Regions from separate parts of the Homo sapiens genome. Here region 2 is linked to region 1. Evidence: promoter capture Hi-C in 16 types of primary human blood cells and fetal thymus (Javierre and others, 2016). All regions are on one chromosome and are shown on one strand. The core of a region is centred on a gene start or on the middle of the fragment in contact, and the rest is flanking DNA. Distances in the headings are between cores, read along the strand shown. Region 1 holds the start of SOCS6 (suppressor of cytokine signaling 6). Region 2 overlaps CCDC102B (coiled-coil domain containing 102B).

Evidence for each region. Contacts are between HindIII fragments. The CHiCAGO score rates a contact against its expected background, and 5 or more counts as called.
Region 2: a fragment that was not itself captured here is called in contact with the fragment with the promoter of SOCS6 in region 1 in 4 of 17 cell types (M0 macrophages, M1 macrophages, M2 macrophages and 1 more); the score reaches 12.9 in M0 macrophages.

Annotation. Positions count from the first base shown.
Region 1 is chr18:70,284,892-70,291,623 of GRCh38, reverse strand. SOCS6 (suppressor of cytokine signaling 6) reads right to left here and starts at 2,579. Exons shown (of 2, transcript NM_004232.4): 1 at 2,534-2,579. RefSeq lists a silencer at 1,844-2,743. The HindIII fragment of the contact is 7,416 bases long and covers 1-3,526 here.
Region 2 is chr18:68,832,264-68,839,334 of GRCh38, reverse strand. CCDC102B (coiled-coil domain containing 102B) reads right to left here. Exons shown (of 8, transcript NM_024781.3): 2 at 1,966-2,586; 3 at 409-629. The coding sequence starts at 2,571. Among named protein-coding and RNA genes, the nearest start is that of CCDC102B, 38 kb to the right of the region's middle. The HindIII fragment of the contact is 1,025 bases long and covers 1,072-2,096 here.

The DNA of each region.
Region 1 (6,732 bases), core at 1,330-3,829:
TACTAAATGTGTATCGTTTTTGCTCCATCAAAAAGTCAAAAAGTCCAAAATTGGGGACCATCTATATGTTTGGACTTTTAAATAAGATCACACCTCTATGAGCAAAATAAAAGATATGATCAATAACCCAAAAGTTTCCTGAAAACTGGCCATAATGGAGAAAACTAGCAAGATTTTTCTCTAAGGAGTGTAGTTACACAAGAAGGCTTAAGAGGACACTTGCAGGCTGGGTGTGGTGGTTCGTGCCTGTAATCCCAGGGCTTTGGGAGGCTGAGGTGAGAGGATCTTGAGGCCTAGAGTTTGAGACCAGCCTCGGCAACACAGCAAGACCCCACCTCTCCAAAAAACAATCAGCCAGGTGTGGTGGCACATGTCTGTGGTCCAAGCTACTCAGGAGGCTGAGGGAGGTGGATCACTTGAGCCCAGGAGTTCAAGGCTGCAGTGAGCCATGATTGCACCACTGCACTCCACCCTGGGTGACAGAGGAAAAACAAAAAAGAAGATACTTGCTTTCTGTTTCCTAAAAAAAGGGGGGCCATTAAAAGAACACCTTTTCCAGTTCTAATGCAAGAATGAAGAAAAACACTGGAAGGCAAAATGACTAGAAACCCAGTCAGTACAGCACCATTTTCCACCCTACGCCCAGTCAATGGCTCTCAAATTCCTTCCCTGCCACTCCCTGCGGGGTGGGGGGCCCACCAAGAGAGGGGGTCATGGGATGACCCGAGGGTGTGCGCTTGGGTGGGAGGCCCTGCTGAAGAGAAAGGGGCAAGACTACCAATTTAGAGGGTAATTTAGAAGATAACGATAAAGGTAAGAGAGAAACAGTGTTTCAAAAGAGATGCTGAATGGAGTTCTAAAAAAGTATAGATTCGGGTGAATACCTGGCTGACCCTTACCCAGGCACAAGCGGAAAGCCCTGGCCAAACTCCAGATAGAAGTTCTTCTAGGAATCCTTATCAAATCCACTGTCCACGAACCAGGTTCCTCCAAGGCACCAAGGCAGGCTTAGGGAGGGTGTTTGAACCAAAGGGTTAAGGCCACATATTTAATTTAGAGCTGAATGGATCCTAGACCTTACCATATCCACGCGTGCACAAAACCCACTAGGAGGAGAAATTAGAAAGCCCACGGAAAAGTATTACAGACTTTTTTTCCGGTTTTTGTGAAACCTGGTGAGCAATGCCATTCGTGTTTTTAAGTAAGGCTGTCCACAGCATTAAATATTACAATTAAGATTCGTTCATTCAAGTAAGCTAAATGGATTTAATGTTGTGGTAGTTGGTTAAAAACAAGTCAAGATAAATTGCTACCTTCAGTGGTTGAGAAGATGTCAGATATTTTATCTTGAAGTAGAACGTTTACTTTTGTTTGATTCCAAATGTATCTTTATCCCAAGGAACACAGTAAATTTAAAATGTCTCTGGGAGACGTTCAGTGTGTAATTCACGTTATTTCTGTCATTACTGTGTTCTCTGTCCTCATGCACAGTGCATGCTGCCTTATCCGGGCAGACGTTGCAGAAACATTTGTTGAAATGAATTCAACATTATTTATTTTGCTACCGGAAGACTGAGTCCCGCCACATATTCCCACCTGGCCCTTCATTCCAAACAGTGGGGATGGGAACCCCAATTTCACATTCCAACTGAACGTTAAGTTGGCACACACACTACTGCACATATCCCAAGTTTTGTGCCAGGATCTGCCCCTGAGAAACGTCCATAATTCTGCTCCGTGAGCCACAAGGGTGTACCTGAAGTTGCCAACTCCCGAAGCAAACTGAAAATTCAGGCCCGTGTCGGTCCCAGGAGCGGTTTAAATTCCACAATCGTCCGGTCCCTACACCCGGGTGAGTGCGCAGCCGGCCGGCGGCACCTTCAGCCGCAGAGCAGCCCCGGCCTGCACCTCCACCAGCGCCGGCGCGACCTCGCGGTGGGGCGGGGGCGTCCCCGAGTCCCAGCGCCGCGCCCCAGGCCCGCCCTCGCGCCTGCGGCCTCGCCGCGCCCCGACCCCGAGCCCGAGCCCGAGCCCGCGGAGGTCCGAGGAGGGACCCGGCCGGGGCGCAGAGCCGCGCAGGCCCCGCGCCGCTGCCCAGGCCTCGCGGAGCCCCGGCCTCTCCCCGGCGAGCTGCGGGCAACAAAGGCGGCGGCCCAGGCCGGCGCGCCGCGGCCGAAGAGGCCGAGGGGTCGAGAAGAGCCGTCCGCGGCCGCGCAGGCCTCGGCCCTTCAGGGGCCGCCGCGCCCCGGCCCCGGCTTCCCGGTTTCCGCGTCCCCGCTCCCGGGACTGGCCCCGGCCCCCGTTCCCCGGCCCTGGCCCCCGCCCGCGCACCCGCCGAGACGGCGCAGGGCCTCGCGCTGACCCAGACCCGTCGCTGCAGCCCCGCGCCCGGCGGCCTCCCTGGCCCGGCCCGCGCCGGATCCGCCCCCTGCACTCCGAGGCGAAAACCAGCCGTGTCCCGGACCGCGGGCGACCCGGAGGCGGACGGCGAAGCCCTGCCCCTGCCTCCCGCCCGAGCTCCCCGGACGCTTACCCGGAGGCGGCCCGGCTCCGCTTCCTCGCCCAGCGCCGGCGCGACTGCCGCGCTCGCCTTCTCCTCTCGGCAACTCCTCCTCCCGCCTCCTTCCTCCTCCTCCTCCAGGAGGGGCGCGCGGCCGCGGCGCCTCGGCCCGAGCGGGGAGCGGGTGCGGAGGAGCCGAGCGGGCCGCCCCCCGTCCACTACTCGGGCCCGCGGCGCAGGCGGGGCGTCGGGGCGCGCGGGGCTGAGGCCGGGGGCCGCGCGGGGCGGGGCGGGGGCCGGGCACTAAGTGGGGGTTCCGAGGGGAGGGGCGCCGGGCCGGGGTCGTGGGGCGGACGGAGCGCGGAGCCCTGATCCCTTCCCCCACCCCCGCGCCCCTCCGCTGGTGCCTGCAGGAGGCCGCTCCTCCGGCCCCCAGAGTCCCTGTCCTGGTTTTTCCTTTGGTGCTTTCCCTCTGGCGGGGGTGGCCCCGGCTAACGCGGAAAGGAAAGTCTCCTCGTTCCCCGGCCCCGCGGATTTGGCGGCTGCGGTCCCTGTCCCCCTGTGGCGGGCGGTCGGACCCCCGCACTGCCCAGGTCCGCTGGGCTCGCGCGGGGACCCCGGCCTCGTCCCCGCAGGGAGGGGACCCCAGGACAGACGCGCGCGCACGCTGTGCAGAGCCACAAGTGGGGAAACCCTCCCCACACCTCGACTAAATTGTGAAAAATGCTTTTTAAAAAACCAAACATTCCTTGTTTCAAGCCATCCACTTTTCCATTTAGTCGTTTTCAGGGAGGTTTTGTACAAGGAATAGTTGTTTGTGCCGCCGAATTCCAAGGTAGTGTGGTATACAAGTTGCATGTTGGGATCTTGACTAATTTCTTTGGAAACTGGCTGAACATACTACTAATGTATAGCAGTACCACAAAAACTTGATTTTTGTGCATAAGAATCAATAGGAAAATTTGTATTTCTCTTACGATGAAAAGTGGTTAAAAAAATGAATATCATTAGTATTTCAGTAAAGCTTGGGGGGAGATAAATATTAAAATCTAATGAGAATTATTGTGGACTTTAAAAGTTGTGTTTCTTGAATAGTATGGACCTTTTTAAAAGAAAACCGAAAGGACAGAGAAAAAAGGGCTAGAAAAAAAGTCTAAAAAGCTGTTCAGGTATGAGTTGGTACCCGAATTATATCTCAATAAAGTTGTTAGTTACAAAAAAGTTCAAGTCCAGTAATCTTAATTCCTATGTCCAATATACAATCTGGATTTCCCCAAGAAATCTAGATTCATAACAGAAAAGTTGGATCTTTAGGTGATGCAAAGTTGATGTCATGTATCATACACTATCATTGTCATCTTCAGTTTTTACTTGAATTTATTAATAAAATACTACCATTATTGTTACCGTGATTGAAATGCAACACAATTCTCAAATATCTAATTACAGTGATTGGAGAATGTAGGTTGAAATAGAATTGTCAGAGAAGTTAGTGGGAAACACAACAAACAGTAATTAACGGTGGCTCATGCCTGTAATCCCAGCACTTTGGGAGGCCGAGGCGGGCGGATCACAAGATCAGGAGATCGAGACCTGCCTGGCCAACACAGTGAAACCCCATCTCTACTAAAAATACAAAAAGTAGCTGGGCGTGGTGGCAGCTGCCTGTAATCCCAGCTACTCAGGAGGCTGAGGCAGGAGAATCGTTTGAACCCGGGAGGCGGAGGTTGCAGTAAGCCGAGATCGCACCACTGCACTCCAGCCTGGGTGACAGAGCTAGATGCCGTCTCAAAAAAAAAAAAAAGAAAAGAAGCAAACGTTTCAATCCTACTGCCTCGGAGTTCCAGTGTCTCCCTATATTTTCTAAAATGACAACCAGTAGGAGCTGTGCAGCAGGGGGTTAGTGAGCCTTTCACGCAGCAATGGGGCTGTGCAGGATGGGGAAGTGTTGACTCTTTTAGGAGACACTTAAATGTATGGTTAAGACCCTGGGGTTCTGAGTCTGGCAGAGCTGGTGCAGAAGCACAGTTTTGACAGGTCATACAGCTGTGTGACCTCAAACAAGTTTCTCAGTTGGAACCTCAGTTTCTACTTTTGTAAAGGGTGAGTGAGGGGGCTCGATATTAATTATGTCAAATAGTTGTAAGATTACATGAAATAATGCACAAAAACCCCTAGGGGCCTAATCTAGGTAATAAAACTTCATGAGTCCGGCCTTGCATTCAGCTCTTTTGAATATGTCATATCCTTCAATTTTCATATCAATCCTATAAGGTCAGTATTAACATCACCGCCATATTTCTGATGAGGAAACTGAGACTTGCAGTGTGATAGTAGTAATTTACTCTCCCAAAGTCACAGCTACTGTGGGGCAGAGTTGGAATTCAGGCTTAGGCCTCTGTGATTTCAGAATATGAGCCCTTTACCACTACATAGTGATAACAATAACATAGCAACAACTTCAGGGTAGAGATATTAGTGTCTAGATATACTATTAAAATCTCCATGCATGGCTGAATTCCAAACACTTCTTGGCCATAAACATGTGATATCTTCTTGGCTGTCTGCCAATGAACCCTTTTTTCCATCAGCACTCACTCTCCGTTTGGAGGAAATCTTATCTTTGCCCTAACAACACCCAGCACAGCTAAGATATGTGCCCATGACTCACCTACTTAAACTCTTGCCTAGGCCAGACAGGGAGGCTTACACCTGTAATCCCAGCACTTTGGGAGGCCAAGGCGGGAGGTTCACTTGAGGCCAGCGATTCGAGACCAGCCTGGGCAACATGGCCAGATGTCATCTCTACAAAAAATTAAAATATTAGCAGGGCGTAGTGGCATGGAGGTGGGAGGATCACTTAAGCCCAAGAGTTCCAGGTTGCAGTGAGCTATGAACATGCCACTACACTCCAGCCTGGGCAATAGAGCAAGACTCTGTCTACAAAAAGAACCAGGCTGGGCGCAGTGGCTCACACCTGTAATCCCAGCACTTTGGGAGGCCAAAGCCAGTGGATTACTTGAGCCAGGGAATTTGAGACCAGCCTGGGCAACGTGGCAAAACCCTGTCTCTACTAAAAATACAACAATTAGCTGGGCGTGATGGCGCATGCCTATAGTTCCAGCTGTTCAGGAGGCTGAGGCTGGAGGATTGCTTGAGCCCAGGAGGCAGAGGTTGCAGTGAGCCACTATCATGCTACTGCACTCCATTCTGAGCAACAGTGCGAAACTCTATCTCAATAAACAAGCAAGCAAGCAAGCAAGAAAGGAAAAGAAACCAGAAAAGAAAGAAAAGAAAAGAAAAGAAAAGAAACTCTTGTCCAGATGCTTACTGTTGTGCAAGTGATATAATCATGGAAAGCTCCTGGAAGAGGATGGGATCACATCTACTGTAATAAGGTACCTGCACCAAATTGATCCTGGTGCCAGTCCCCAAAGCCTTCTAATAAATCCCTGTTTTGCTCAAGATAACCAATTTCTGTTGTTTACCGTTACAAATGCTGTCTGATAGATATGCTTGTTAAAAAATGGGGATAGCCACTGGTCATATTGAAAATCTATCCTCTTAACAGTGACAGGGGAGCACAGTTCCACTGCTTCCTCCTAGAGCAATAGCTTATAGAGCCAGAAGCACCCTTAATGATCATCCTCAACATCCTCTTTTTACAGACATGAAAACAGTCCAACATCCTCATTTTAAGGAGGAGGAAACAGACTGAGAGATCAAATGATTTGCCCAAAGTGACAAAGTTTTGACATTTCCCAATTTTGAGTCTTGTTTGATTTCTAATATTAAACCTCTTCCCTTCATCTAAAAGGGGAAAAAGAGAAGTCTAGACTTGAGAAAACTGGGTGGAAGCTGGGTGGGTTACAGTGTGCAGCCTTCCATCCTAGTCCTGGTGATTCAAGTACAGTCATACCTCACTTAACGAAAGTGCTATGTTCTGAGACAAGCATTACTAGGTGATTTCGTCCTTGTGCTAACATGATAGACTGTATTTACACAAACCTAGAGGTAGCCTACTACACACCTAGAATAATAGGGTATAGCCTGTTGCTTCTAGGCTACAGACCTGTACTGCATGCTACTGTACTGAATTATGTAAGCAAATGGTAACCCAATGGTATTTGTGTATCTAAACATATTTAAACATAGAAAAGGTTCAGTAAAGATACAGCATTATAATCTTACAATGGGATCACAGTCATGTATGCCATTGACCAAACCATTAT
Region 2 (7,071 bases), core at 335-2,834, 1.5 Mb after region 1:
TTTCTGTAATAAATATCTCACAAAATTGTGATTTTTCCACTATTAATATTAACATATTTATTCATTTTTACTGACCAAGTCCAAGATGCTGTCAAACTTAAATAATACACTGGATATTTTAACCTTGTACATTAAGAATTCATATACAATTAAAGTGAATCTACCAGAGAAGATAAAAACATAGTCATGATAAAAGTCAACTTAAAAGAATGGAAAACACTAACAAGTTATAAACTACATTTTAAAATTCAACATATGAATATATATCAAACTAATTTCTTTAAATCCTAAAACTTAATGACTAAACATGGATAAAATACATTATCAAATGACCAATCTATCTGTATTAACAATTTTAAGTGATTTGAAACTTAGACTTGGTTAAGGGAGACAATGATTAGCACTTACTCTCTTTCCTTCCATAAGATTTTTTGGAATTCATCCAAATGCACCTGCAAAGCTGAAATTTCAGTTACTTCATTTTCCAAAGGCAGATTTATTGCTTTCAGTCTCAGCCCAGTTTTCGTTTCACCGTTTCCAGAACCACCATTGTTGAATAAATCAACACCATCTAGATTGGGCTTCATCTCCTCACTTAATTTTAGAGAATCAATAACCACACCTTGTTCCTGAAGACAAAACAAAACAAAACATATTTAAACCTCCTGGAGAAAAATCATGATGACAAAACATTTTCATAAAGAAATAAATGTTACGATACCACAACCAATTCATATTTTTATTTCATTATCATTCCCTGAAAGTGTTGTGTGGCCACACTTACTTGCATTCTTCTTTGAGCTTGTTTTTTTCTATGTTCTACTTTCTCATAAAAAAAATACATTTCTCAAAAGTTCTGCTTTAACTCTTGTTTGTTCTCTTTTTCTAATCGCAGCTAAAAATAACTCTGCACAAACTTGAACAGCTGTAAATAATTTTTAATGAGTTGATGAATTCCTCTTTCAAGTTTCTTTTGTCATAAGACACTTACAGTTTCAAAGCAATCATTTTTTAACATTTTTGAAAGACAAGATAGAATTTTCAGGAAGCTGTTGAATATTTTAAAAAGCTTGCTTATTGCTTCATTTTAGTTCCCCTTATTGCTTTAATTCATGAGTCACATCTAAATAGAATTTAATGGGGCGCTTTAATAAACATGGACATCAGTACTAGAGCAACAACTGCACGACACTCTTAGAGCGTAACTCAAAAACTTCACAGGACTCATGCTATTGGTATTTGCCTACAATTTAAATTTGCCCTGGTTTATAAGTTTGAAATGAAAGACAATTTCAAATAAAATCTCAATGAATAGTCAAGTTCCAGTAAAATCTCGATGATACTTCACTTTTATTTTATTTTTTAAGTAGTATGTGGATTCCAGGTTACCTAGGATGATTCATTCCTTAATTCTCTCAAGAATGAGCATTGCAATCATCTGTACTATAATATTTTGACAAGCAATAAAATAAGATGTGTTGTTCACGGAAAGTATTGAAGTCAGACGAAGGATACATATACATATCTTTCTTGTTAGGTCTCCTAACCCCCAGTACCTCAGAATGTGACTGTTGGTGGAGACAGGGCCTTTAGGGAGGTGATTTAGTTAAATTAGGGTCATTAGGGTGGGCCTAATGATGGTGCCCTTACAAGAAGACCTTAAGACACAGACATGTGTACAGAGAAAAGACCATGTGAAGACACAGGGAGAAAACGGCTTTCTATAAGCCAAGGAGAGAGGCCTCAGAAGAAACCAACCCTGCTAGCATGTTGATCTTGTACTTCTAGCTTCTACAATTGTAAGAAAATGAATTTCTGTTGCTTAAACCACTGTGATTATGGTACTTTGTTATGGTAGCCCTGGCAGGCTAGTATAATCACCATTGCATTTGTCACTTCCTTCTTCCTCCCCATCACTATATATGACCTTCAGAAATTCACATCATCTCTGGATTTTTTTCTTACCTTATTATTTGTGTCCTCCTTTGTAGAAAATTGTCTTTTTACCAAATACTCTCTGATAGACTCATGCATTTGTGAACTCAATTGAAATTGGTCTGTATGTTCACAGGATTCTTCTACGAAGCCAGGAAGCTTCAGATCCTGGGTAACTTTAGCTTCTAATGCCTCCTTCTGAGGTGGCAAACTCTGTTTCTTTTTCAGTGTACTCAATTCTTTCATCGCCATCTCTAGTTTTATTCTGAGTTGTCTTCCTTCCTCCCTGGCACTGTTCCTTTCAGCTCGAACTTTACTCCATTTTTCTCTCCAGTTGGCAGTGCAGTCCGACCACCACCGCATGGTCTTTTCCATCTGAGCAGCTCTGGCCTTGACTTCTTCAAGCTCCCGCAGGCGAAGTTCTTCACAAATATCCCATTTGTTGGTGTTATATGAGTGAGCACAGAAATTGTGAGCAGCATGAGATTGTAGCCCATGAAGTGGGAAGCAGGTATTACAGGTATCCCTGGGGGGTGAGGCAGGTGCCACCATGTCGCCGCGTGACTTAATTGATGATTGTTGCATCTGGAAGATCTGTGTTTCCTCAATTAATCGATGTATGGAATCTAAATTCATATTTATTTTTAAGACCTGAGAAAAGATAGAGACCATAATTTCACGCTGAAATTTCCCTTGTAAATACAGGAACAAGACCTACACTTTTTTTTTTTTTTTTTTTGAAAATTGATGAAAACAATGCTTTTTTTTTATTTTTGACAGAGTCTTGCTCTGTCACCAGGCTGGAGTGCAGTAGCATGATCTCGGCTCACTGCAACCTCTGCCTCCAGGGTTCAAGCGATTCCCTTGCCTCAGTCTACTGAGTAGCTCGGACTACAGGCATGCGCAACCACGCCCAGATAATTTTTTGTATTTTAGTAGAGATGGGGTTTCACCATGTTGGCCAGGATGGTCTCGATCTCCTGACCTCGTGATCCACCCGCCTCAGCCTCCCAAAGTGCTGGGATTACAGGCGTGAGCCACCATGCCTGGCCGTGCTTTTTCAATATTGCATATTTTTCCAGTGTAACTAAAAATACAGAGGAATTTAAACACTTGTAACTATCCACTAAGAAACAGAAAATGCTCGTATTCAATTTTGCCAAATACAAATAAAAATATAAAGATGCAATTGAAGATAGCATATGACATAAATAATTCATTTTGACAATTCCAGTTCTACTTAGGTCATATCTATTGTAACATTGTCCACTACGAAATACAAATTGTAATATTTATTGTCCACTAACTACATAATGGTTTTCTTTATCCCTGCGAAGCCTCAATTTGTTCAGGCAGAATGCACAACCTATTGATCTATAGGTTAACAAGCCTCTATCCCAGTCCCAGAGGTTGAATCATAGTCTACATTTTCCATGATGCCCTTCATCTGTTGACTATTGACTAGTCTCAAGGCAGCCATAGGGTCTGGCTCTGGCGGCTGGGATGTGAGATGAAGGGTACTGAGAAGATTTCCCATCTAGAAAAATATGAGAACATCACAATGAGGAACTCTCTTTCCTCTGCCTTCCGTGTGTTTGAATAAGGACATAGTTCTGGAAGAAGGTGAGTATAACAGCCTTCTCATAACATTCAAAATGGTGAATCATGAAGATAAGAGACTGATTTAAGGTGCGAATTATGGCATGACACGTAGAATGCATACCTCTGAATCCTTTGCTATGTGAGCAGGATAACCTATATTTATTTAAGTTATGATGGTTGAGTTTTCTGTTATTTTCAGGCAAAAGCACATCTAACTTCTACATGAATTAATTTCTTACTGTGGTTAATATTGTGATAAGGTCAAAAATAAAATATTATGAAAAAGACATGGTTCTTGTGTGTCAAAGATTTTACAGTCTGGTGGGTGAGAGAAGCAGAGTTAAGTTTTAAAGATACATAATTCACATTATAACAAATATGTGCATTTGTTCAATAACTTTATTTATTATGTAATATGTGTCAAGTCAGTGTTAGATTCTTAGGTATGGTCAAGGTAATCTAAGGGGTACTGAAGAAGTTATGACTATCGCTTAGAAATGAGGAAACTTTACAGCATAGATAACACTACACAGAGTCTTAGCCCAATGCAAAGCTTTGTAAAGGAATTAAAATCAACTTTCCATACAAATACCAACACACAAATTAATTTGTAAAGGTATACCATATGTAACAATACATATACCCAATTCTTTATTCAACAGTTTAATTTAGGTATATTGAGAATATAGTAAGTAGAATTTTTGCTTTAAAAAGTGCTGAAAATATGCAGCTTAATTTGTAAATTAATAAAGTTCCATGGCTGTATATAATTACCCATTTTTATTCTCAGATACGCTTTTCTGGTGTAAATAATCTTATATAATATTTTATGTGCATGACATTAAATCCTCTCACTTTTTTTCATCTGCTTTTATATAGTTACAGATCATAAATCACCTCCTTATGACCCATCTATTTAATCAACTGAATGGGTTTCATTACTTTAACTAACTTACAAAATAAGCCTTTAATCATTGGGAAAAAAAGACTATATAATATTTTAAAAGATGAATATTAAGGCTATCTTATTAATAGACCTTATAATTTTAAACTTAATATTAACTTTTAATTGTAGAGAAAAAACATTTTAACAAGTGTTATATAGAGATGTCAAACCACTTCACTCTTCATTGTAACACTTGTAATAATATAGACTCATGGTTGTAATTAGTTTTGTTAGCATTGGTATATGTCCAGTCATGTTTCAATTATTGCTGATTTGGAGTGTTTTGTTCCCTTCATTTACTATAATTCAGAGGGCAATAAGAATACAACTGACCAAATTCCAACACCAATATAAAAAAGAAAAGAACAAAAGGAACTCTTAATTAGAAACACAGCAAATATATATATATATATATATATGTATTTACATATACAACTACATATATATATTTACTATTCACTATTTAATGATATTTCTTTTGGTTGAAATTCCAAAGTGAAGACAGAGAATTTAATTCAGCATATTAAACTTAAATTTATCCTTGCTAGTTTTCAAAATAAATCAGTATCATAAAATTGTAATGTCTTTAAATGTCTCATTAACTTTTATTTCACTAGTGTTTTGAAGATGCCATAATTGGATTCTGGTACATTGAGATCTTGCCTACCAATTAACTGTGTATTTTTTCACATCTGACTAAATAAAAATGAGTTGGGCTTAATCAGTCAGTCCTTGAACTTGGAGAGTATTTCCTGTTTTAAAAAGTTTTCTCAGGCAAGGAAAACTTGCTTGAGATGAGACTGGTTAACACACATATGCATATGCACTAAAGTCTTCATTTCCCTATACAAATGTGTGCACTCTTCGTATTTTAGCTCAGACAACTATGAAAGTATTTGCCAGTGGTTGTAGGACAGGGCCGCTGATACGTGGGAAAATATTTTAACGATGTTGACTCTGGTTTCTTGTACCGATTTTTGCATTGTAAAAATGCTCATACAATCAGGCCACCATGATTCCTGCAAATATTTTTGAATGTAGTACATAACCAAATAAATAAAATGTTAAGGGTCTACAAAGTATATATAATATCACTAAAAAATATTATTTGTTGCCAAAGAAGAACTTAATGTGTCAGTGGACACCAGCCTCTATCAGGTAGAGTCTTACTCTGCCACTTTTTAGACGATGATCTTGGACCAATTACATAAAACTGCCTTTCATTAAATATCCTTAGTATAAAAGGAGACAAGAATAGCATGGGCCTCATTGAATTCTTCTATTAAAAGGGAAAAGGCCTGCAGATTGGTTAGCCCTAGCTACCTTGCAGGCAAAGCATACATTTTTCTCTGTTATACAAGTCATTAGTAAGTCACCTTGACATACTAATTGTACCATTTACTTTTTTGTGTGTTTTTCCCTCTGTCTCTTGAAAGAGAAATGGTGTACTTAAAAAAAAAAAAAAAAACAGGAAAAGCATAGGAAAAATGAAATTTACAAAAATGTTCTGTATGTAATAAAGTTGCAGTTCCAATTTCTATATAATGTTGATATCAATCAGTGGAATAGTCAGTACTATTATTATCCCCGTCTTAATGATAAAGAAACTAGGGCTTAGGCTCTGATGTATCCAGACAAGTCATACAGTTAGAAGGGGTCAACCCAGTTTGGAAACTGAGGAAATTTGAATCCTGAGCTACCACCTTTTCATATGAAAATTCTGCAGCTTCAAAATATCAACTGTTTTCACTATAAATTTTTTAGAGTATTTCAGGAATACATTTGGCATACTTCCACTTTGGATATTTTTAAGCTAAAATATCTCCTATTAAATTACACAACAATTAGTCTTCTCATCCTGACACTGTCCTTTGAGTTCATTCAATCTCCTCATCATAGCTCAAAGGGACTGTGAGGTCCAGGCCTGTCCATCCCTCTGGCTTCCTCTTTGTCACTCCATCTTCCACATCCCCTGTGTCGGCTACCTGGATGTGTCCATTCCTTGCACAACCTCACCTCCACCTTCTCCTTGGTGCAACCTGTTTGCTCTGCAGGAGCACGCTCCCCACTCTCCGCAGACTCTCTTCCCCCTGGCTTCTCATCCTTCAGGTAGCAGGTTATACTTTCCTACTAACTAAACCCGTGATCTGAGAATTCTAGATCCCTTAGTGGCCCTTTGTCTAAGGGTATCCAAGGGAGAGGACACAGTCTTGGGTTCTTAGTTTCTGTTTCTGACTGGGGTAGTAAAACCCCTTCCTCATCCCTCTTTTCCACCTATCACTAGAAACAGAAGCTAAAAACCAAGGTTTCCGGCTGCTGAAAGCCTAAAACAAAACAAAACACAGCACAACAACAACAACAAAATAAAGTGGGTTGAATATCCACCGCTGACCTGCTCCTTGAAAGTGAACAAAATAGACATCACTTCTGCCATCCTGAATGTTGCTAACAATCATAAACAATAAACCAAACTAACAATCACAACTTTTAACTAAATCTTTGAAAGGAGCAAACAGTGTATTGCAATCCAAAAAATCCCTCTGTACTTAGGAAAGTCTCTCCCAAGTGACATTTTATGTATTATCTGA